Regions from separate parts of the Homo sapiens genome. Here regions 1 and 3 are each linked to region 2. The links are contacts of gene promoters, found by promoter capture Hi-C in blood cells and fetal thymus (Javierre and others, 2016). All regions are on one chromosome and are shown on one strand. The core of a region is centred on a gene start or on the middle of the fragment in contact, and the rest is flanking DNA. Distances in the headings are between cores, read along the strand shown. Region 1 overlaps LOC105377714 (a long non-coding RNA gene). Region 2 holds the start of SLIT3-AS1 (SLIT3 antisense RNA 1). Region 3 overlaps LOC105377714 (a long non-coding RNA gene).

Evidence for each region. The method cuts DNA at HindIII sites, captures the fragments that hold promoters and counts their contacts. A CHiCAGO score of 5 or more calls a contact.
Region 1: a fragment that was not itself captured here is called in contact with the fragment with the promoter of SLIT3-AS1 in region 2 in 5 of 17 cell types (M2 macrophages, M0 macrophages, endothelial precursors and 2 more); the score reaches 10.4 in M2 macrophages.
Region 3: a contact is called between a fragment that was not itself captured here and the fragment with the promoter of SLIT3-AS1 in region 2, in 4 of 17 cell types (M2 macrophages, M0 macrophages, M1 macrophages and 1 more). The highest score is 8.6, in M2 macrophages.

What each region holds. Positions count from the first base shown.
Region 1 is chr5:169,561,593-169,565,323 of GRCh38, reverse strand. All of the region lies in intron 2 of LOC105377714 (a long non-coding RNA gene), which reads left to right. LOC105377715 (a long non-coding RNA gene) reads right to left here. Exons shown (of 4, transcript XR_941204.3): 4 at 3,602-3,731. Among named protein-coding and RNA genes, the nearest start is that of SPDL1, 20 kb to the left of the region's middle. The HindIII fragment of the contact is 1,472 bases long and covers 564-2,035 here.
Region 2 is chr5:169,011,892-169,015,933 of GRCh38, reverse strand. SLIT3-AS1 (SLIT3 antisense RNA 1) reads right to left here and starts at 2,707. Exons shown (of 5, transcript NR_109897.1): 1 at 2,550-2,707. All of the region lies in intron 4 of SLIT3 (slit guidance ligand 3), which reads left to right. The HindIII fragment of the contact is 2,662 bases long and covers 1,872-4,042 here.
Region 3 is chr5:169,544,534-169,548,432 of GRCh38, reverse strand. All of the region lies in intron 2 of LOC105377714 (a long non-coding RNA gene), which reads left to right. The region is part of intron 3 of LOC105377715 (a long non-coding RNA gene); the gene reads right to left. Among named protein-coding and RNA genes, the nearest start is that of SPDL1, 37 kb to the left of the region's middle. The HindIII fragment of the contact is 1,434 bases long and covers 1,559-2,992 here.

The DNA.
Region 1 (3,731 bases), core at 50-2,549, 550 kb before region 2:
CATTTATCAAATCAAATATTTTAAGATAATTTGAATATCTACCAATTCAAGATTAATAAAATTAGTTGACATATTTCCATACAATAAAACTGGCTGACATTTATAGAGCTCTATTATTTGCCTGTCACTCTACTAAGTGCATTACAAGGATTAACTAGCTTAATTTGCACAACAATCCTGTACATAGATAGTATTATTATCTCATCTTAAATATGACAAAATTGAACCACAAAGAAGTTATGCAGCTGATAAGTGGTCACGTTAGGGGTGACACCCAGATGGTCTGGGGTGATCTGTGTTCTTAACAATGATACTTCATAATGGGATATAACACAGCAACCATATGCAGAGGGAACGAGGATATATTCGGTAGATGAAAGCAGATTTCAGAAGAACTTAGCATAGTTACGGAAAGAACAGAGTGGAGAAAGGAAGAAAATGTGCAGAACGCTTACAAAAAATGTTTTGAAGGGAATATACCAAATATGTAGGGAGTTACTTTTAGATGACTTTCACTTTCTTTTTATGATTCCCTACAATCAAAAATTCTTGTTAAATAAGCTTATATTTCTTTTACAATTAGAAAATATATTTTTTGAAAATCAGCCAACTGCTAGCCTTAATGTATTTTGGCAAACATTGAGGCAGTCTTTCCTGTTTGACTCAGTTGGTACTGGTTTTTCCTGCTAACATTTCCTATAAGCCAGTGCCTTCAAAAATCTCAGTTACTCAATAGTTTAATGTTGGCTCTATGTCCGTATTTTAGTCAAACCCTACCTAGATAACTATCCTGGGAGGTGTAATGAAGGAGATGTGTAGGGATATGAAGATATAATACAGAAATTATTGTGGTAGACATGGTTTCTTGGCTGACCCAAAAACCATAGAAAAGACTGGGATTTCCACAATTCAGGCTGGAGAAGCAAAGTCATAGGCACTTTGGACCTAGAGTTGGTCATATGACACATGAAACCAAAGGAGTTGGCTGCTGCAGGAGCTTCTATAAAATACTTTTTTTTTTCCCCATATAGAAAGATAAACCTGGATGGCACTCCTCCTGCCTCTACTAATCTTCCAGCTCTTCAGTCAGTCATGAGGATATGATTTTTGCAGTTGCGGCAGCCAGTTTGTGAACTTGAGGTGACAAGATAAGGGAAAGATCAAGGGATAGGCAAGGAATAGGCAAGGGATATGCTGACCCTAACATTGTGATGCTGCTGAGCAAAAGCCAGCTAAAGTCTACCTCCAGGCTGCTTGTTACGAGAGAAAAATAAAGCCTTATTTGTTGAAGCCACTGTTTACTTTCTCATTAGTTGCAGCCATGCATATGCCCAATGGATACAGTGCTCAAAATGCTCAGATATTACTCTTTCTTGAATTCAAGCAAATGTTTTATATCTTCCCTTGCAAGGAAATATTGTTTGAATCATTTTTAGGAAATCTAAAAGACTAAAATTCAAATTTAGAGTTCATCTGTTTAACTTTTTTTGACATGCAAAAATTAGTATTTAGGGAGAATAAAGGATTGCCACAGGGTTATAAGACTAGTGGTTATTTTCTCAACAGCAAAATTTTGCATGAGGACACCTTCAGGTGGCTATTTGTGTTGTCTACAAGTCATAAGCCATAAGAGTTATGGTATATGATGTACAAGATGATGGATAAGAACATTCCACAGCATCTCAATAGATAAACTTACTGACAAGAAATATGTCTGCTCCTTACCCTGAGCATGGGAACTGCTGGCTGATGGATTCACAGAAGATATGAGTGTAAGAATGCTTGCCTGGGTGTTCTGGTAGCTGTTCTTCATCATAAGCACTTAAGGAGTCATTTTGTTGGATGATTTTGGTCACTGATAGAGGCTGAGATATGCAAGTCGATGGCAGTCAACAAAGCAATGACCTCATTATTTTTGTCTAAAAGGCCAGCTCAATCCCTGCTGGAACATCTTTTTGGGATTTCTATATCACTTATAGCTAATGGGTCTAGCTTTGCCACTTACATTTTTAAAATGTCATTTTAGAATGAAGCTTAAAAAGGAAGTGGGAGGTAGCTGAGGGTATAATATAGAACCCTATCCACCAGGTGTGTATTCTAATCACTTCATTTAAATGTGCATGAAGGAGCCACATCATAAAATGACCTGAAAAATTAGACCATAGAGCTATATCCTAAACACTGGTGATTCAGGTCTCAGCTCATAAGTTACCTTCATTGGCACATTCCCTGATCTCTCAATCTGATGCAGTCCCACAGTCGCTCTATGACATCACCTATTTTAGTTTCTTCTTGGCTTTTACCATCATCTGGTGATTGTTTTATCGATTCTGTTCTTTGCTCATTGTCTCTCTCCCCTCTAGCACTTGAGAGGTAGCAGGACCCACTTTGTCTTGCTTGCTGTAGCATTCTGAGTGAAGATGTCAGGCCCCAGACTAGAAGTTCCATAAATGTTTGTGGAATGCACAAAAGATGATCATGATATTCTCTGTGACAACTTTGGCTACTTAGGTGACTACGTTGTCTTTTAAGGGTGGGAGGGATGATAGATTACCTCTCTTCATTTTCATTGGTATGTCAGACAAGCACTTGTGCACCTTAGTCCAAAGAGTTACAATATAATTATGTAAAAAAATGTGGGAGCGATTAGAATTGGCACATGCCTCAATCACAAATTCATATTTGCCCATGTGCATGTATGTGTGTGTGTTTATGTACATATACAGCTCAGGTTAATTTGTTTTTGCCTGAGTGGCCAGTGGTCTTGTTTACTGAGAAAAAGATATATATTTAAATTGTACCAGAATTTTATAGATATTTTCACATTTCACTGAGTAATATGTTATACAGATATTTTCACATTTCACTGAGTAATATGTTATACAGATATTTTCACAACCTACAATTGATCCTGTGCTCTACGCATGCATATGTATTGGTCGGTGAGCCCAATATAAAATGCACTGGAAACAAGGCAAGCATTAGCCTAGCTTAGGAAACCTGCAGCACGATTGATTGGAAGGAAACCTAGGCATATATGCAACCACTACATAACTAGAAGAAGAGCTTGACACTGAGCCCAAGAGAAAAGAGCCCATAGAGAGCCCCAGAGCTCCCCACCCCACTCTCAGGATAGAAAGTCATGTGGGACGTGGTGTAGAAAGAGCCTTATTCCGCTCCAAAGAGCAGCTAAGCTGCCAGCAAACTAAACTTTAGGAGTAAGATAAAAACATTAATTACAGATGTCAAGATTAGAGTTTGCTTTTTCTGCAAATTCCATGGGGTCTCTAAGCAACTTGATCTTTGAATCCCTGGGGTACTAAAAATCTACAGAGAAGAGATTGTTATCTTAATGTTGCAAAATCCCCACCTTGAGTGCTGCCAAGTAAAAATCCAGCTTAATGACACAAAGTAGAAGGAATATTTCTTGTCTTTTCTTTCTTTAAAAGAGGACTGACATTCAAACACAATTTAAGCTGACAATTATAACTGTAAAATTCTTCCAAAATTCTATGAGTATACAAAGTGCCTTGCCTGAGCTTAAGGAAACAACTATGTAATCACTAAAATTGGATTTTGATTTTAGAAAGCCTTTCTACATACTACTTTTAAAATGTATCAGTCAACTTAAAAATGTTTGTTACCCCGACAGAGAGGCACTTCCCAGAAGAAGAACTTGACTGCTGGAAGGCAAAAAGCTGAGCCCTCATTATTTGATATTCATAAATGTG
Region 2 (4,042 bases), core at 1,458-3,957:
GTTTATATTTTTCTGAGTCAGAATCTCATTCTATCAGCCAGGCTGGAGTGCAGTGGCATGATCATAGCTCACTACAGCCTCAAACAATCCTCCCACCTCAGCCTCCCAAGTAGCTGGGACTATAGGCAAGTACCACCACACCTGGCTAATTTTTGGTTTTTGTTTTTGCTGTGTTTTGTTTTTGTACAGACAGGGTCTCACTATGTTGCCCAGGCTGGTCTTGTATTCTCTTGCCTCAGCCTCCCAAAGCACTGAGATTATAAGCATGAATCACCACACCTGGCCAGAGTAATGTTTTCCATAAGATTATAAAAGTTTGAAACCGGGGAGATCCTTAGAGAGTATCTATTCCAAAGTCTTAATTTTATCAATAAGGTTAGAAAGTTCCAGAGAAGTTAATTGTGCAAAGTTACACAGCTATGGATTATGTATCACTTTTGGACAGTTGCAGCGGACACTGCTCCAGCCTGTCCATGCTTGCACAAATGCATGCATATTGGTCAACTCTGGCTTTTGGAACATCATTGCTGAGTGGCTCCTGGAACTGTCCCTAAACAGAGTTCCCCACAGTCATTAACACACACCTGCAGGAGCTTCCCTGCCAGATCCAGGGTCAGCAGAAAGCAGGCCCTCAACCTGCTCTTGCAGGAGGACCCTTTACCTCCTGAGCATAAAATCAGCCCTGTAGGGGAGGGGTGTGAGGGAGGGATGATTATGATGACAAGGGGATGTCCCAGAGCCACTCTTGTTTTGTCCTTTCCTAATACACAGAAAAACCAGGCTGAGCCAAATATATCAACTCATAGATGGTGTTGCTTTGTTTTTTTTTTGTCCAGTTAGTTGGTTTGTAATTCATTTTATATGGATGGATAGCCCTTATCAATGACAAGGTTTTGCTTTTTGCCCTCCTGCAAGTTTGGTTCTGTAATCTACAAGGTCATTATTGCCACCTTCTGAGGTTGCATTTTTATTTTTATTTTTTTGAGATGGAGTCTCGCTCTGTCACCCAGGCTGGAATGCAGTGGCATGATATCAGCTCACTGCAACCTCTGCCTCCCGAGTTCAAGTAATTCTCCTGTCTCAGCCTCCTGAGTAGCTGAGACTACAGGCATGTGCCACCACGCCTAACTAATTTTTGTATTTTTAGTAGAGACAGGGTTTCACCATATTGGTCAGGCTGGTCTCAAACTCCTGACCTCAGATGATCCACCTGCCTTGGCCTCCCAAAGTGCTGGGATTAAAAGAATGAACCACTGCACCAGCATGAGGTTGCTTCTTAATGCTCCTACACTCAGGGCTAGCTCACCTTCTCTGCCCTATTTTCCTTCCTTCTCTTCATTCCTGTGTGCAAAAGGCACTGTTTTCCAGCTCAGAGGAGCGAAGGAAAGTGTGTGTGTCTGTGTGGAGGAAGCCGGCTTGACGTTGGTCTTGACCTGTCTAAGTCTATCCTAGGCTTCAGCCAAAGAAAAGCCCTGGCTGTGGCTATTCTTTCTCTTCTCCACCTCACCATCCTCTCCCCCACCAGTACTTCAGGTTTCCTGGCTCTCATCAAATTTGTACTGACTTTCCACTCCATGGACTTAGGTATTCAGGACCTGGCCAATTTTGGTTCAGAAAATTTTCTGGATATATATAGCTGGAGAGAGAGAATAAGAATACATGTATAATGTATAAAGGCAGGTGATACTACCAGATAAAATTATCTTCTTGAGTGATTCAGTCCCTTTGTATCATGCCACAAAGATTATGTTCACTCCATGAGTGTGTCATAAAGCTTTGAGATATCAAGAGTGAAAACATAACCAACCTGCCTGCCTGCCTGCCTGCCTGCCTGCCTTCCTTCCCACAAAACATTCTGTATTGTGCAAGCTTCTCTGTAATACCAGGCAGGCAGACCTCAAAGTTTTTGCGAGGCATTTTATGACTTTTATCCTTCTCCCTCATCCACTCAGTGCAATAACTATCACACACAGGAACTATAGCATGAACAAGACAGGCAGTCTCTCTTCTCAGGGAACCAACAGCCTAGAGGCCTGCAAGCCAGAGCAAGTATGCAGATCTATAAACCAGGCACTTTAGAGTAAGTGGCATGAGAAAATACGACAATGTGAGGAAGAAGGAAGAGGTAAGTAACTGTAGGTTTGGAGGGCAGGTGAATGAATATTTGAGCAGAGACCTGAAGGAGTAGGAGCCAGGCCTGCTCAAAATACATTTGTCTTTCGAGGAGCTGCATGGGGCCCCGGCTGCCCTGGGCCACCTATTTAGCCCGGGTTTAATTCCACATGAGCCTTCATCTCAGAACGGGCGTAAGAGGCAGAGGTCAAGCAGCTGCTGAAAGTGGAGTAACCCAATCTTGGGCACAAGTTGGCCTTTAATAAGCATCCAGGTAGCCCTTTGAAAAACGAAACCTGTGGTCAGGTCTCTGAGAGCAGAAGGATCGGGTTTCAGTTTTAATTACAAAACCAAAGAGCTGTCCCATTTTGCTCCATTTCGGCTTCCCCCAGAAGAGGTTTTCCTGTCTCCCATCCTGGGGGCCCTGACGTGCTTACCTGACACAGAGATGGGCTGCTCTAGGTGCAGCACACGGAGCTTGAGTTGGCCAGGCTTGCGAAATGGTAGGATGGAAGCAGAGGCCCCAGATGGGATGTGAGAGCGGGTGATGAAAAGCATGTGGGAGGTGAGGACTGGGTTTGGGGGTTGTTGGAGTTCACATTTGTGGGCTATGGCTCAGATTATGACATCACAGAAGGATGGGACAACTTTGAAGCCCAGGAGAATGTGCGTGTCTTTTCTTCTCCCTTGTCCCCTGCACCTGGCAGAACCTCTGCTCAATGGAAGATAAAGCGATAAGATGGGGATGTGGCCAGTGCTAGTAAAAGACCCCTTTTAATCGCTCACATTTTTGGCACTTGCTATGTGCTAGACACTGGATTAAGCAGCTAACCTGCATTATTTTGCTTAACTCGGTCAGTGTTTCATACAGCAGATAGTAGCGCTATTCTCATTTGATAGACGCAGAAAGTGAGCCTCAGAGAGGTTAGATAAGTGGCCCAGGCTCCTCCGTGAGTAGGTAATGGCCGGGGTTCATCCCAGGTCTGACTGAAGAGTCCATATTCTTTACATCTTTGCCTCACTGCCTCTTCATGTAAGCTCTGGACCTGCCATCATAAGACAAATGGGAAGAGGTGTCCTACCTTCCTAAAGGCATTTTCCAAAGTGATTTCTGAAGATATCTGATATGGGCAACTTTCCAGAATTAGTTCAGTTGTTAAAGGTTTCACGGATGAATAAATGGTGTGGGGGATGGGGGTTGAGAAGAGGTCAGAAGGAGAGACAGCGTGGAGAATGATTTCCAAGGCTGGATCTTTTCTTTATTTGATTCTAGTAAATTTTAACGAGGCCCTTAATAAAATCCCAGTGCTTAGCAGAGCCTCCACATTTACAAGTTGCCAGACCTGGGGCGGAAGAAGGGAAGTTGGAATCCTGGCGCTCAGCTTAGTCCTGCTGACCTTTCACAGTTCAGGCGAGCCAGGCTTGTAAGATTGAGCACTGCACTCTGAGCAGAGCACTCCTGCCCAGATCAAGTGGCCAGAATCCTCACCCCAACACAAGGCTGGTCCCATCTCCTTCGAGGTGGCATCCTTCAACGGGCACACCTGAAGTGGATGGCTGCCAGTTGGTGAGACACTGGAAGGAAATACACACAGTTATCACAGGTCAGCAGAGCTTCATGCCATTTTGCTTCAGGATTATTACAAAATAAAGTCTTCTAGGCAATCATCAAAATCCTCATCTCCCAATCTATAAGATGCCCTTTCCTGTACCCCCGAAAAATGGCTTTCATCAACAATGAAGAGTTATCATTTGTATTTGCTATTTAGTAGATAATAAATAATGTTTATAACATATCAAGTTATAAAGAATAAAAAATGACAATAAAAGTGGTTCCTACCTTCTAACACCTAGTTAAACCAAAAAAAAAAAAAAGCAAGAAAGAATATTACTCTGTTTTTGAAGTCCCCTATGTTGAATGAATAAATGA
Region 3 (3,899 bases), core at 1,026-3,525, 530 kb before region 2:
AGCCGGGGATAGAAACCAATTGAACTGTTTGGATAGGTACATTTGAAATGTCAGTGAATTACAGCAAAGTTTACCCTTAGGTTCCTATATATTTTCTCTAGACTCATTTCTCAATGGCAGTTAAACAGGACTAATAATCAGAGAAAAATCCCCTTAGCACCAAAAAGCCAAAAAGGCATTCATTTATCCATTCAATACCTCCATTAATCACATGCTATAAGCAGGGTATTGGGCTAATGAACTATGGGATTACAAGAAAAAGTGAATTCATAGCATGCATACATTTAACTTACTGGAATTCAACTATGGCAAAAAAATGAAAGAAAAATAATATAAATATTGTAGGAAATTCTGCCTGTTATTTCACTCAATGAATTTGTGCCTCGGAGTAATTGTACCTACTGTCTGTCTCTCAGCCTTAAGCCCAGGCTTTTATACTCTGCTCTGTGACACTGGAGGCAGGAATCTGCAGACTGCATTTCCCAGACTTTTTTGCTATCTAGCTTCTGGTTAGGTTCTGCCGACTGGAGGCACTGGCAGGAAATCAGAGGGTGATAGGAGGGTAGAAGGATGCTCTTTCTGTTTTCAGTTCTGGTCGAAGTCCTTCCATCAGTAGCACTCAAGTAGGACTCCAGCTTATTTTAGCATTTCCAGCATTAGTTCCACAGTGGCTCCTTCAGAGGTACCAGTAGGAACTGCCACGTTCCCTCTTAGCACTCACCACTGGAGTCCAAGTAGCAATCACGTGACATCTCCTCAGAGGTTGCTGAGCCAGCTGTGCAGTGACACATTGGTGGTTGGAAAATCTGCTCTGTGGAGACCCTTCCCCCAAGAAATGGTGTCCTGGTAACACTATTTACTCTTTTTTAATCTTCCAGCCCTAAGAATCCTAGCTGCTTTCTATACTACAAATACCAGAGGTACCTGAACACCATTTTTTGTTTGTTTTTTTTTCTTTTTCTCTTTCAGCCCTCCAGACTCTGTATAACTGATCTCCTATATTAAATCACCTCTGTTTGAAACACTTGGCATGATTTCTGTTTCTGTTTTCCTGATGGGATCCTGACTGCAGTAAGAATGAGATGAGAGGCCAGGAACACGCCTGTAACCTCAGCACTTTGGGAGGCTGAGGCAGGTGGATCAGTTGAGGTCAGGAGTTTGAGACGAGCCTGGCCAACATGGTGAAACCCTATCTCTACTAAAAATACAAAAATTAGCCAGGTGTGGTGGCATGCACCTGTAGTCCCAGCTACTAGGGAGACAGGCAGGAGAATTGCTGGAACCCAGAAGGCGGAAGTTGCAGTGAGCCAAGATCGCGCCACTGCACTGTATCCAGCCTGGGCAACAGAGTGAGACTCCATCTCAAAAGAAAAAGAAAAAAAAAAAAGCATGAGATGAGAGACAGCAATGTTCTCTTTTCTTATCCAGTATCACACTTTGTGTACCTTTCATGGTTGAGACATCTCGTAACACTCATGTTTATATTTATATTTTCAAACAATATAAGCCTACTCACCAGCCAACTGGTTGTCAACCAAAACCAGTAGAATGTAAAGCTTCATAAAAATAAAGGATTTAATGATACACTGGCCTGTTCCAGCACTGAGAGAAAACTGGCCATGTTGGACTTAATGACCCATGGTTGTCAAATTGCCCCTTTCTAAGAAATTTCCAAGGATGATTTGGCCAGATAAGACTTTTGCCTTATATTGCTTTATAAACTGAAACTTTAATAACGATGTTTCCATAGCATACTCTTGCAAAGATGAGCAAGACCAGAGTTATTTCCTTCAAAAGCTCTCCAACTAGTAGAAGACATAAGGCATGTGCAAACAGAAAATGCATGGCAACATTTGATGGGAGCAAAACACACAAGGACCAACCCATTTGTCACCAGTTAGTAGTGAGAGTTTACGAAATAGGTTGGAAGAGGAGGAAAACATGATGCACTGGTTCTGCTACAGACTTCATTCACTGGCTTGCTCAGAGCAAGAAATGATCATTATTTCAATTTTAAAGACCTATTTGGAAGAAGATGCTTGCCTGATCATGAACCGTTGCTTAATATATAACTTGTCTTCTCCAGGTATATGTCAATGCCATTTTATTTTATTTTTCTCAATGGCCATGGAGAATACAGGTTTACTTCTTCAAGGACTCTCAATAATACACTCTTTAAAGGTTTAATACATTCGTGTTAATTTTTTGTTTTGTGCTGGGTTTCTTTTTCAGTGTGTTTATTTCCTTTCCTCTTCCTAGAAAACGTGATTATATTCCTTAGTTCCAAGTTCTATCAGCCCTAATTCTTCATGTCTCGCTTCTGGAGTTGATGAAATAATCACTCTCTTTTTAGCATAGAACACCAGCATAAGAAAGGCAAGAAAAGGGACCTTCCAGCTATAGTGCTGGGACCATCAGTCCATGGGAGCTTTTGAATCTCAGTATGTTTCATCTTACCAGGTCATCCACCTCTGAAGGTGGTGACTCACTAGGGTGAGAGATGACTTACTGATGAGGCTGTCTTCACAAGTTCTCATTTGAAGTGGCTTTTGAAGAATAAGGAGTAGATGTGGGAGGGGATTAGCAGTCAACTCTTTTCTTCCATTATTAAATATTTTGGAATTCAGCACTTTTTAAAATATATATTTGCCTAAAATTCTTAAGGATTCATTTAAAAGAGAGGAGCAAGAAGAAAAGAAAGAAGTTTGAAGCTGAAGAGAAAATACTTGTTGCCCTTTTTCCTCATGGTTTGAGCTTATTTGAACAGTTTTTGTCCTGCCATGTGACTTAGCTTAAGGAATTTTTTGCTGGTTTAGGACAGTAATGGGGATGTAGAACAAATTTTCCCTGAAAATGCCCCTCCTATTTCTTTGAACTATATCAAAGTACACTCCATCCATAATTCTATGCATTTATTTCCTCTTTTCATGGCAACTCGTTCCAGATGAATGTGACAACCTGATAGGTACCAATACAATGGAAGTAATAAGCTTATTTAAAACGGATTTTACTTTTCCCTAAAACAAAATATCTATGTAACTATAGCTTGCTAAGTAGAATGCAAAGCTTTTTTTTTTTTTGTAAAATGAAGGATCTAATGAGATACTGATATGTTTTGAATATTGGTCCATGAGATTGCTGGAAGAACTTGGCTGCCTTACAACATTACGTTATAGACAAACTTCAGCATGGAGTAATATAATTCATATACACCTTAATGGGAACCTCCTGGCTCTGACTCACAGCAAGAAATAAAGCCAAATACTCCAATCTGTGGTGCTTATTCAAGTTTCTGCATTTAAATCTGGAGTCATATTTAGTTTGTATTTATTTTCTGAAGTGAATGATATTGTGGTGGCCAGGATTCCAGGTATGATTAGGGGATGCCTCACCTTACAAAAAAGGTCAATATTAGATTTTCAGAAGGTAAGCGAGAAGAGAGACTTCATTTTCAGACAGAAAAGACATGGGCAAGAGCCCATAGACAGCAATCCAATGGGGGAGTTTAGCTTTATTTGAAAGTCATCTAAGCAGGGTGTGTGAAGGAGGCAAATGTGAGGTTATAAAAAAAAAAAGCAAAAAATAATTAAGAAGGCTAAATCTTAGCTTGCAGCACCTAGAATATAACTATCTAAAAGAATTGCAGATTTGCCATCAATTAAATAAAAATGTCAAGTCAGCTGTTGTTATCATTTGGGTTAGACAATTGGTTGATTAGTCATTTTGCTATCTTATAAAATGAAACTGGGAGAAAAAGTTTAATGTTAGTCATATCTATGTAATATGGTTAAATTGCTTTAGGACAATGAAATTAATATGCTTTACTATCCCCACAACTGATTGTGTTAAGGGTCGTTTGATCCACAGTGATGCAGCAAAATTCTGTTTTTGAGACAGGC